2 separate regions of the Homo sapiens genome follow, and region 2 is linked to region 1. The links are contacts of gene promoters, found by promoter capture Hi-C in blood cells and fetal thymus (Javierre and others, 2016). All regions are on one chromosome and are shown on one strand. Each heading gives the region's core, a stretch centred on a gene start or on the middle of the fragment in contact. The rest is flanking DNA. Distances are from core to core; before and after follow the strand shown. Region 1 holds the start of BMP6 (bone morphogenetic protein 6). Region 2 overlaps LY86 (lymphocyte antigen 86).

What was found. The method cuts DNA at HindIII sites, captures the fragments that hold promoters and counts their contacts. A CHiCAGO score of 5 or more calls a contact.
Region 2: a fragment that was not itself captured here is called in contact with the fragment with the promoter of BMP6 in region 1 in 1 of 17 cell types (neutrophils); the score reaches 8.3 in neutrophils.

The regions. Positions count from the first base shown.
Region 1 is chr6:7,724,596-7,729,021 of GRCh38, forward strand. It overlaps BMP6 (bone morphogenetic protein 6), which reads left to right and starts at 1,504. Exons shown (of 7, transcript NM_001718.6): 1 at 1,504-3,024. The coding sequence starts at 2,361. The HindIII fragment of the contact is 3,909 bases long and covers 1,229-4,426 here.
Region 2 is chr6:6,652,804-6,657,082 of GRCh38, forward strand. LY86 (lymphocyte antigen 86) reads left to right here. Exons shown (of 5, transcript NM_004271.4): 5 at 1,741-2,179. The coding sequence ends at 1,824. Among named protein-coding and RNA genes, the nearest start is that of LY86-AS1, 32 kb to the left of the region's middle. RefSeq lists a silencer at 1,054-1,244. The HindIII fragment of the contact is 4,773 bases long and covers 1-4,078 here.

The DNA.
Region 1 (4,426 bases), core at 254-2,753:
GCAGTGAATTTATGTCCCTAACATGTTCCCTACAGAAAAAAGAAGTGACAGGGCTCTTGAATTCTGAGGGTCCGGGCATCCCAGACAAAGTATCGTATTATCTTTTCGGATGGAAGAAATCCCTGTAGAGATGGTTAAAGACTGGCATTCACATAAGTTTTGTGCCCTGAAATTCATAGCTATCAGATATTTGTAGAAATAAAGACTCTTCTAAATGACCACTTGTGTCTGGGCCAAGGCAGAACTAGAAAGAAGGACTCAGTGGGTAGTTGGAGTCAGTGGTGGTCTCTATTTACCCATGAGAAATAGATTCTTGGAAATAGGATAGGAATGCTTATAAGATTTGGACCAACAGAAAGCCTATGATCTCATAAATTCATGAATCCCACAGTCTATAATCTATTTGACTTCACTCTCAAATGCCTAGGACCATTTGGACTAAGGCTGGCAAGTCAGAAAATTGCAGTTTTTATTTTCAACTCCACACAATTTTCACCAAGTAAAAAACCTTCATGTTTTACGTGAATTTGCTTCTACGATCCATAGATGACTGGATGTTCTCGGGCGGGGTAAAGGCAAATGAATTTGTGTCCTCATTGGCAAATGGTGTTGGTGGTGGTGTTATCTTGTCTAAAATCCACAGGAACCTGTGTTTCAGGACCCTGTCTATTGTCCTGACCATTCAGAATGCATGCCAAGCCCCTGCTCTTCCTGGAGTTATCTTTATCACCTCTCCTCAAGTTTTATCTTGCACCATATAAGTCACATTGTATTTCAATATTAAAATGCAACATTAATAGATAAGCTGGAGAATCAAGACATTTCCAAGAAGACAGGGGACGCCTTTTCTAATATATCGTCTGATTACACCCTCTTTCTTTTGGGTGCTAGCTTAAGAAGCCAAACCAAAGCACAAATGAACAGAGAAGTCAACACATCCGACCCCAAACCCTCAGGACGCTGGCTTGGGTTACATGTGGCCCTCTCTGTGGTCAGTTTGTGAGTAGCCTCCCCGGAGGGTGTGTCCCAACTTCCAGCAGCTGCCGTGGAAAGCCACGTGTCCGCTAAACGCCTACATTACATCAATAAGAGAAACTAAGGAAGGGATGGAAAAGCTATCATTTTTCTTTTCTTCCTCAGTTCTGGCAGTATAGTGATTTAATCGCTGTTATTATTTTTATTTAGTTAAAGCATCAACTTAGGCCTTTTAAATGATGGTAAAAGAGAAAGCTTCAGATCGGGGTATTGGTCAGATCATTCTTACTAGCGATGACCTCTTCGCCTTTGGCACCTCGCGGCTCTTCGCATGCCTCCAAGAATTCCCGGGTCTTGAAACCTACGCGCGGCGGAGGCGACGCCTCTCGGGAGAGGGAGGGTGAAAGAAGGGGCGGGGCTATTTAAATAGCCCGCGAGCTTCGCGTCCCCATTGGCTGCCAGCCTGTCGGTTACCGCGGGGCGGGGAGTCCCGGGGCTGGAGTGAGGTACCTGAGCCGGGCGCGCAGCAGAAAGCCCACGTTGGCCGCTGCGGGGAGCGCGGCGTGGAGAGGCGGGAGACCGAATTCCGGCGCCGCCGCCGCGGCCGCTGCTCGGTGCACTAGCCCCCTTCCTTCCCATCCTTTCTGCGAGCGGGTTTGCTGGGCAGCCGGGCGACCGCCGAACGGAAAGCAAGATCCTCGCCGCCTCCGCTTGAGGAGGCGTGCGGCGCGCGGAGATTTTGAGTGGGAGCGACGGTGCCCGAGAGCTCAGGGGCGCGGAGTTCGTGAGCGAGAAGGAAGTTAAACCTCGCGGAATAGACTGGCATTTCGGGACGCCTTGTCGCCGCAGCCTGGGCCCTGCAACGGGGTAAACTTCATGGTGGCCCTGCGATCTGGGGAGGGGCGTGCGCCACGGTGATGCCGGGCATCTCCCGCAGCTCGTGAGCGGCCCCGCTCCCCGCTGCCCCGGGTCCCACTCAGTCGCCAGGGAGAGCGCGGGGCAGCGCACGTGTGCGGCCAGCGAGGCCCAGAGTGACCGCGCCGCGACTCGCAGGAGCCAGGGCGCAGGCTGCAGTGCAGCCCGGACTCAGACGCACCTGGCCTGGACCGCGCGCCTCTAGAGACCTGCGCGAGGCTGTGAGGCTCCCCTTCCTCCCCTCCAAGCGGTTCTCCTGGTGATCGCCCCTTCGCCACCTCTCTAGCCTGGGCAACTGGGGGCGCCCCGGACGACCATGAGAGATAAGGACTGAGGGCCAGGAAGGGGAAGCGAGCCCGCCGAGAGGTGGCGGGGACTGCTCACGCCAAGGGCCACAGCGGCCGCGCTCCGGCCTCGCTCCGCCGCTCCACGCCTCGCGGGATCCGCGGGGGCAGCCCGGCCGGGCGGGGATGCCGGGGCTGGGGCGGAGGGCGCAGTGGCTGTGCTGGTGGTGGGGGCTGCTGTGCAGCTGCTGCGGGCCCCCGCCGCTGCGGCCGCCCTTGCCCGCTGCCGCGGCCGCCGCCGCCGGGGGGCAGCTGCTGGGGGACGGCGGGAGCCCCGGCCGCACGGAGCAGCCGCCGCCGTCGCCGCAGTCCTCCTCGGGCTTCCTGTACCGGCGGCTCAAGACGCAGGAGAAGCGGGAGATGCAGAAGGAGATCTTGTCGGTGCTGGGGCTCCCGCACCGGCCCCGGCCCCTGCACGGCCTCCAACAGCCGCAGCCCCCGGCGCTCCGGCAGCAGGAGGAGCAGCAGCAGCAGCAGCAGCTGCCTCGCGGAGAGCCCCCTCCCGGGCGACTGAAGTCCGCGCCCCTCTTCATGCTGGATCTGTACAACGCCCTGTCCGCCGACAACGACGAGGACGGGGCGTCGGAGGGGGAGAGGCAGCAGTCCTGGCCCCACGAAGCAGCCAGCTCGTCCCAGCGTCGGCAGCCGCCCCCGGGCGCCGCGCACCCGCTCAACCGCAAGAGCCTTCTGGCCCCCGGATCTGGCAGCGGCGGCGCGTCCCCACTGACCAGCGCGCAGGACAGCGCCTTCCTCAACGACGCGGACATGGTCATGAGCTTTGTGAACCTGGGTAAGGATTTGGGGTAACGTAATGACGAGAACATTTCCCCCTTTTCAGTGTCCCGGGCCCAGGGGATGGAGTGAGGGGGTGGAGGAGCTCCCGGCGCGCGGGTCCCGCCTGGTGCGCCAGAGAACGCGGGGACAGGCAGGCTGTGCTCCCGCCACCTGCGCGGCGGTGGGCGGCACATGCGCTCCCCCGCGCCGCGGGCAGGGCTGCGCGCCGAGGCCCCCAGAGGCGGCTGGCCGGCCGGGCCGCGGGGCTCCGGGAGCGCTGTCCCCAGCGGGCGTGTATTTGCGGACTCCCTGAGCACGTTCCGCGCTTTTTTTCACTTCTGCCCAGCTCTGGCCAGGTTAACTCAACTGCAGCAGGAGAGTCCAGCCCGAGTGTGGCCATCCTGGGAAGAGGGCTCTTCAGTACGATTTTCCCCTCTAAACTGCCGCCTTTTGCCCCCTAACTTGGAGTGCAGTTTTCCCACCGAGACTTTTAGGGAATCCGACAGCGGCTGGGAACTTTGAAAACTTGGCATGAGTATGTTTAGAGGTATCCACGGCACTAGGGGAGGTTGCAGAGGGAAGTCCCAAAAGGACCGCGGAAGGCGCTCGGATCCCGGCCGGGCGGGGCTCGCTTCTGTTTGGGGCGGGATGAAAGCTCAACTGGGGTAATCCATCCTGTGCCCCGGCTCACATGCCCTTGGCCATTGTCCCCAAAGGCTGAACCTTTGATCAATGCAGCCCAAGCTGCACGGGCAGAGAAAGGGTGCGGGGTAGGGGCCGGGGTTGGGCGCTGAGCTCCTCTGAACCGGTTGCCAGGCAACAGAATGGAAATTCACGGGCGGCTAAATGGAGCTCCGCCACAAATGTTCTGTGGCAAACCCGGACCCAGTCACATCGCCCTTTCTCCCCCCTCCCACCCCACTGAGTTTTCTCATCTGTAAATGAGAAGGGTGCAGAGAAGACTCTTTTCTTCGGAGTCAGTGCCTCCGGTTTGCACTGCTTTTCATTCATAAGCTGACTTAGTTTAGCGCAGACATAGGATGGAGGGACGCGCTGTCAGCGGACAGATCATGGGTGCACTGGCTACGCCCGGGATGGTTGCAGCTGCGCGGCGGGGTGGGGCTTCACGGGCCTCCTTCCCATGTGAGACGGTGGTTGTGCCCAGGCCCTGAAGTGGGTGAGCAGACACTCGCCAAAGGAGCACACGGGTCTCCCAGCCACGTCAAAGACGCTCATCTTTTAACGGCATTACTTACTGGAATGATTCCCGCGTAGACTATCTGGGTGATTTCTTTACCAGCCTATCTATGATTCCCAACTCCACTGAGCTTTGAGGGAGAGAACATGGGGGGTAAGAGCCAAGGGAGGGTGTGGAGGCAGGGCGATTGGCATCCAAGTGGTGCAGAAATCCTCCTGGG
Region 2 (4,279 bases), core at 442-2,941, 1.1 Mb before region 1:
AGTCTGTGATATCTGTAATTCATAATCTAGAACCCCTTCCTTCAAATACAACAGCTCCTCTTAGGTTCATAATGTAGTAATGAAAAATTCTTGTGTTGTTCAATACATTTGTAGGTGTGTGTCTAAATGCACATAGAGATTTTAAAGAAAAGTACATGAGGAGGAAGAGAACGATGAAACACAACGAGATATAAATTTGAGCCGGTCTTTACTCATAATTAATTCTCTAACATTTGGACTGCTTTGGTTATATTCCTAACACTATTTCTAAAATTACAGCTGCTCAATATTTGAGGAGTGTGACTCATGGGAGCGTCTAGAATCATGGAATCACACCCAAGGCACCATCCAGAGCACAGCCTGGTTCTCTTGAATACAATTTCAGTGTTGGGGACTCCACTCTCTTTGGAAGCTCTGCTCATTGCTAGAAAGTTGCTCCCTTCTAACAAAAGCCACCTTTCATGCAGCTTCTCTCCGGTGGTCTCACCTACTCCTTCCCTCTTGCTTTATACAGATTAAACTCTTTCCTCCTTTGGGTGACAGGCAGTTCAAAGATGTGCCAGCAGTCTCCTGGCCTCCTCTGCCACAGTCCCTCTGCTCCGCTTGCGACCCTCCAACCACCCCAGAGCATTTTCCTCTCCAGATTCGTGTCTACAAACACATCACCGCTCCGTGGCTGCTGGGGTGCAGGACTGGGGTGCTGGCAGCAAACAAAACCAGAATGGCTCTTCTACAGTCCTCATAGGACCTGGCTGCCAGGTGGCTTCTGCCAAGCTGACTGCAAAGGAAGGGAGACCTCCTTACAGTGTTGCTGCCAGCAAGGATCCCCAAAGGCAGCCATTCTTTCTGTGATGGTGCATTTTGGTTTTGTGCTGGTGAACTGTGCTCCCCGGGGTCTTCTCTGTCTGAGCATACAAACCTTTCTCCTTCCAGTTGCTCAGGCCAGGAGCCTTGGAGTCACCTTTAACCCATTTCTTTCTCTCCCACCCACTTGCGTTTCCTCAGCGGATCCTATTGGCTGTTCTTTCAAAATCTCTCTGGCACCCAAAGCCTTCCCCCACCTCCACCTCTACTCCAAGTCATCTTCATCTCTCACCTGGATTCCTGCAATCGCCTCCCATCTGGGCTTTTCAGTGAGGCAGCCAGAGGGATCTTACCGACACAGGCGCCAGGGCAGGCCACCCTCTCCTGACCAGAGTCCCTTTCAGAGTGGAAGCTGATGTCCCCACCATGGCCTTTGAGGCCCTAAGAGTCTGGCCTCCTGTGTTGCCCTTACCTCACCCCCCCCATCCCCCCACTCCCTGCAGCCCCACTGGCCTCCTTCTGCCCCTCTAAGGTGGGGGCCCCAGCCCATAGCAGCACTGCACCTTCTTGCATCTGCTTCAGGTCTTTGCCTAAATGTCGTCGTCTCAGCAGGGCCTCCTTTCACCACCCTGCTCAAAATTGCAGACCAGCACTTGCCTTGACCCATCCAGTGCTTCCATCCACTCCCTTCCTGCATGAGTTTTCTCCATGACATGAGCACCTGACACACCATACATAGTCACATATCATAAGGGTGGTCTGTCTCTCCCAGAGATGCTGTCAGCTCCACAGGGCAGGGGTTGGCTTGTCTTGTTCTACGTTATCCACAATGTCCAGAACAGCACCCAGCACATAAAAGTTTCTCTGTAAATATTTGTTAAATGGTTAATTGTACTGTGGGTCACACGTCTAATACTTGACCTGTGCCCCTTGCAGGGAGAATACCAGGTTTTGCTGGAACTGTACACTGAAAAACGGTCCACCGTGGCCTGTGCCAATGCTACTATCATGTGCTCCTGACTGTGGCCTGTAGCAAAAATCACAGCCAGCTGCATCTCGTGGGACCTCCAAGCTCCTCTGACTGAACCTACTGTGGGAGGAGAAGCAGCTGATGACAGAGAGAGGCTCTACAAAGAAGCGCCCCCAAAGAGTGCAGCTGCTAATTTTAGTCCCAGGACCAGACATCCCCAGACTCCACAGATGTAATGAAGTCCCCGAATGTATCTGTTTCTAAGGAGCCTCTTGGCAGTCCTTAAGCAGTCTTGAGGGTCCATCCTTTTTCTCTAATTGGTCGCCTCCCACCAGACTCACCTGCTTTTCAACTTTTTAGGAGTGCTTCCTCACAGTTACCAAGAATAAAGAAAGCTGGCCACCATTGTTCATTGTGGTTTGTTCAAAGAATCTTACTACAATGCTGTAGTTAAAAAGTCATTTCCTCCAGATACAGTGCCGGATGCTGGTGCAGCATAAGCAGTTCCAAGAAATTCAGGAGGGTGACAGCCTGGCTAAAATTAGAACACTGGGAAAATGTGCCATTGCTTCTCCTGGGCAGGCCCCCACCCTTGGACCATGAGGGCCGAGAAGCTGATGCAACCTCACGAATAGGGACATCATACTCTCGCTTATCCAAACATTCATTTCACCTTCATCCCTCAAAGCATGATTACACTTGACCTCAGCATATGCTGGCGTTCATTACTGCATTCATTAATGAATGCAAGGAATAACTCCTGAACACTTAATGTGTATCAGGTGCTGTGTTCTTAAGTTGTCTTCTACGATGCTCTCCGTAAATGAGCATGTTGCCCATGCTACTTCCAGAGCCATTTCTGCGGCCCCGTCTTCTCTCCTGGGATGCACTGATCGCATGGTGGGCTGCATAGCCCCTTCACCATCCGACGCCCCTGTCCTTCCAGTGTCCCTGCTGGCCCTCTTGCTCCTGCTAAGGGGCTGGAGTAAGGTGGGTGAGTTGACACTATCATTCATAAAAATGCCACTATATTAGAGATTAAAAGAGAAAAAAATTCCATAGTTTAAAAAACAGTAGTTGCTATTAATCACTGTTTATACATCAGTAAACCACCTAGAATAGCAGGTCAAAAATGCCTGTCAAACTTTAAAACCAGCATCTGAGGTTTTCTGGGTTATGAGCAGGCAAAATTGCAGCAGCGTCCTTGCCTAGGCCCATAATGCTCGAGGGAAAAGACGTGCGTGGTCATACTAGGCTCAGGAGCAAACCTCTGAACGTACATGGGGGTGACGGTGTTACGCACAAGAATAGCAAATGATTCCTGCCCCTGGCCATTCCCTCTAGCTTGAGACATTCACCTCTCTCCCTTTTCAGTAACCATCACCACAAGTAGTAAAGTCCCTGGCTAGACTCTGTGTACGCACATGTTCTAACAGTACAAGACAGCTGTCACAGCCTTCCAAAGACACAGGTGGAACTCAGCCAGTCCCTTCCCAATCCCTTTGCCCTCTTCTTTAAATTGACTGTGTGGGTGCGTGTGCGTGAGAGAGAGAGGGAGGGAGAGAGAAAGTTTCAGATGCTATAGGTTTGTGTTAAACTGGAATTTCCATATATGGAGACTATCCTAGTCATAGCTGAATATACAAGTACACAGCCGTTTCACTAAGGACATGATTTGAGAGAAAAAAAAATGTTTCTTTGTCCCAGAATATGTCTTTTCTTAGTGTCCTGTCATGGGCCTTAAATTTCACCATTAGTTTTATTCCAGCAAGTTGAAAACATATTTCAATGTTCAGGAGTCTCCTCTTGGAATACGAACAGCCCTGCTAGGAGAAACGCTAGAGTCTGTCATTATTTAACACTCTGGCAGGATGTAGTAACTAAGATGACTTTGAAAGGGCCAGCCCAGGAAGCAGGGTTGTCAGGGGAGGTGGGTGACCCCAAGCCGAGCCCTCTCAGGCTAGCCATTGTGTGGTTACTGGCTGGGGTGGGGTCAAAGTGCCCAGACAATCTATCAAACTAAATTGACTTCTCCTGTAAAGAGAATTGCTACTGTTTCAAAAATCACTATCAACAACTCCAAAAATGTGTCCTCAATAAACTCTTCTGAAGAAAAAAAAAAAAAAAACAGCTTGGTTCAGGATGATGCAGTGCTGCCACAATTAAGGAATTATTATGAAAATCAGCCAGCTTCAGACATTGGAGTGCCCACCAGCCCTTCTTTATATTTTGAGGGCAATTTCCATCGTTACGTATAGAACGTTTTAAAAAATATTTTTGAGGAACATTCCAGTGCCCAAGGGAAGCTTTGTCAGGCTAGAGTCTAGGCAGAATGCTGATAAAGCCCCTCAGGACAGTGTGATCGCATCTCTTAGAACGTTTTGGCTATGAGGAACAGAGAACTCAATTGAATCTGGCTTATGCATAGGGGACTAGGTTGTCTCCCATGACTACTGAGTCCCAGGGTGGTTTAGGTGTCAGCCAGCGTTTGCTGCTGAGGTTCAT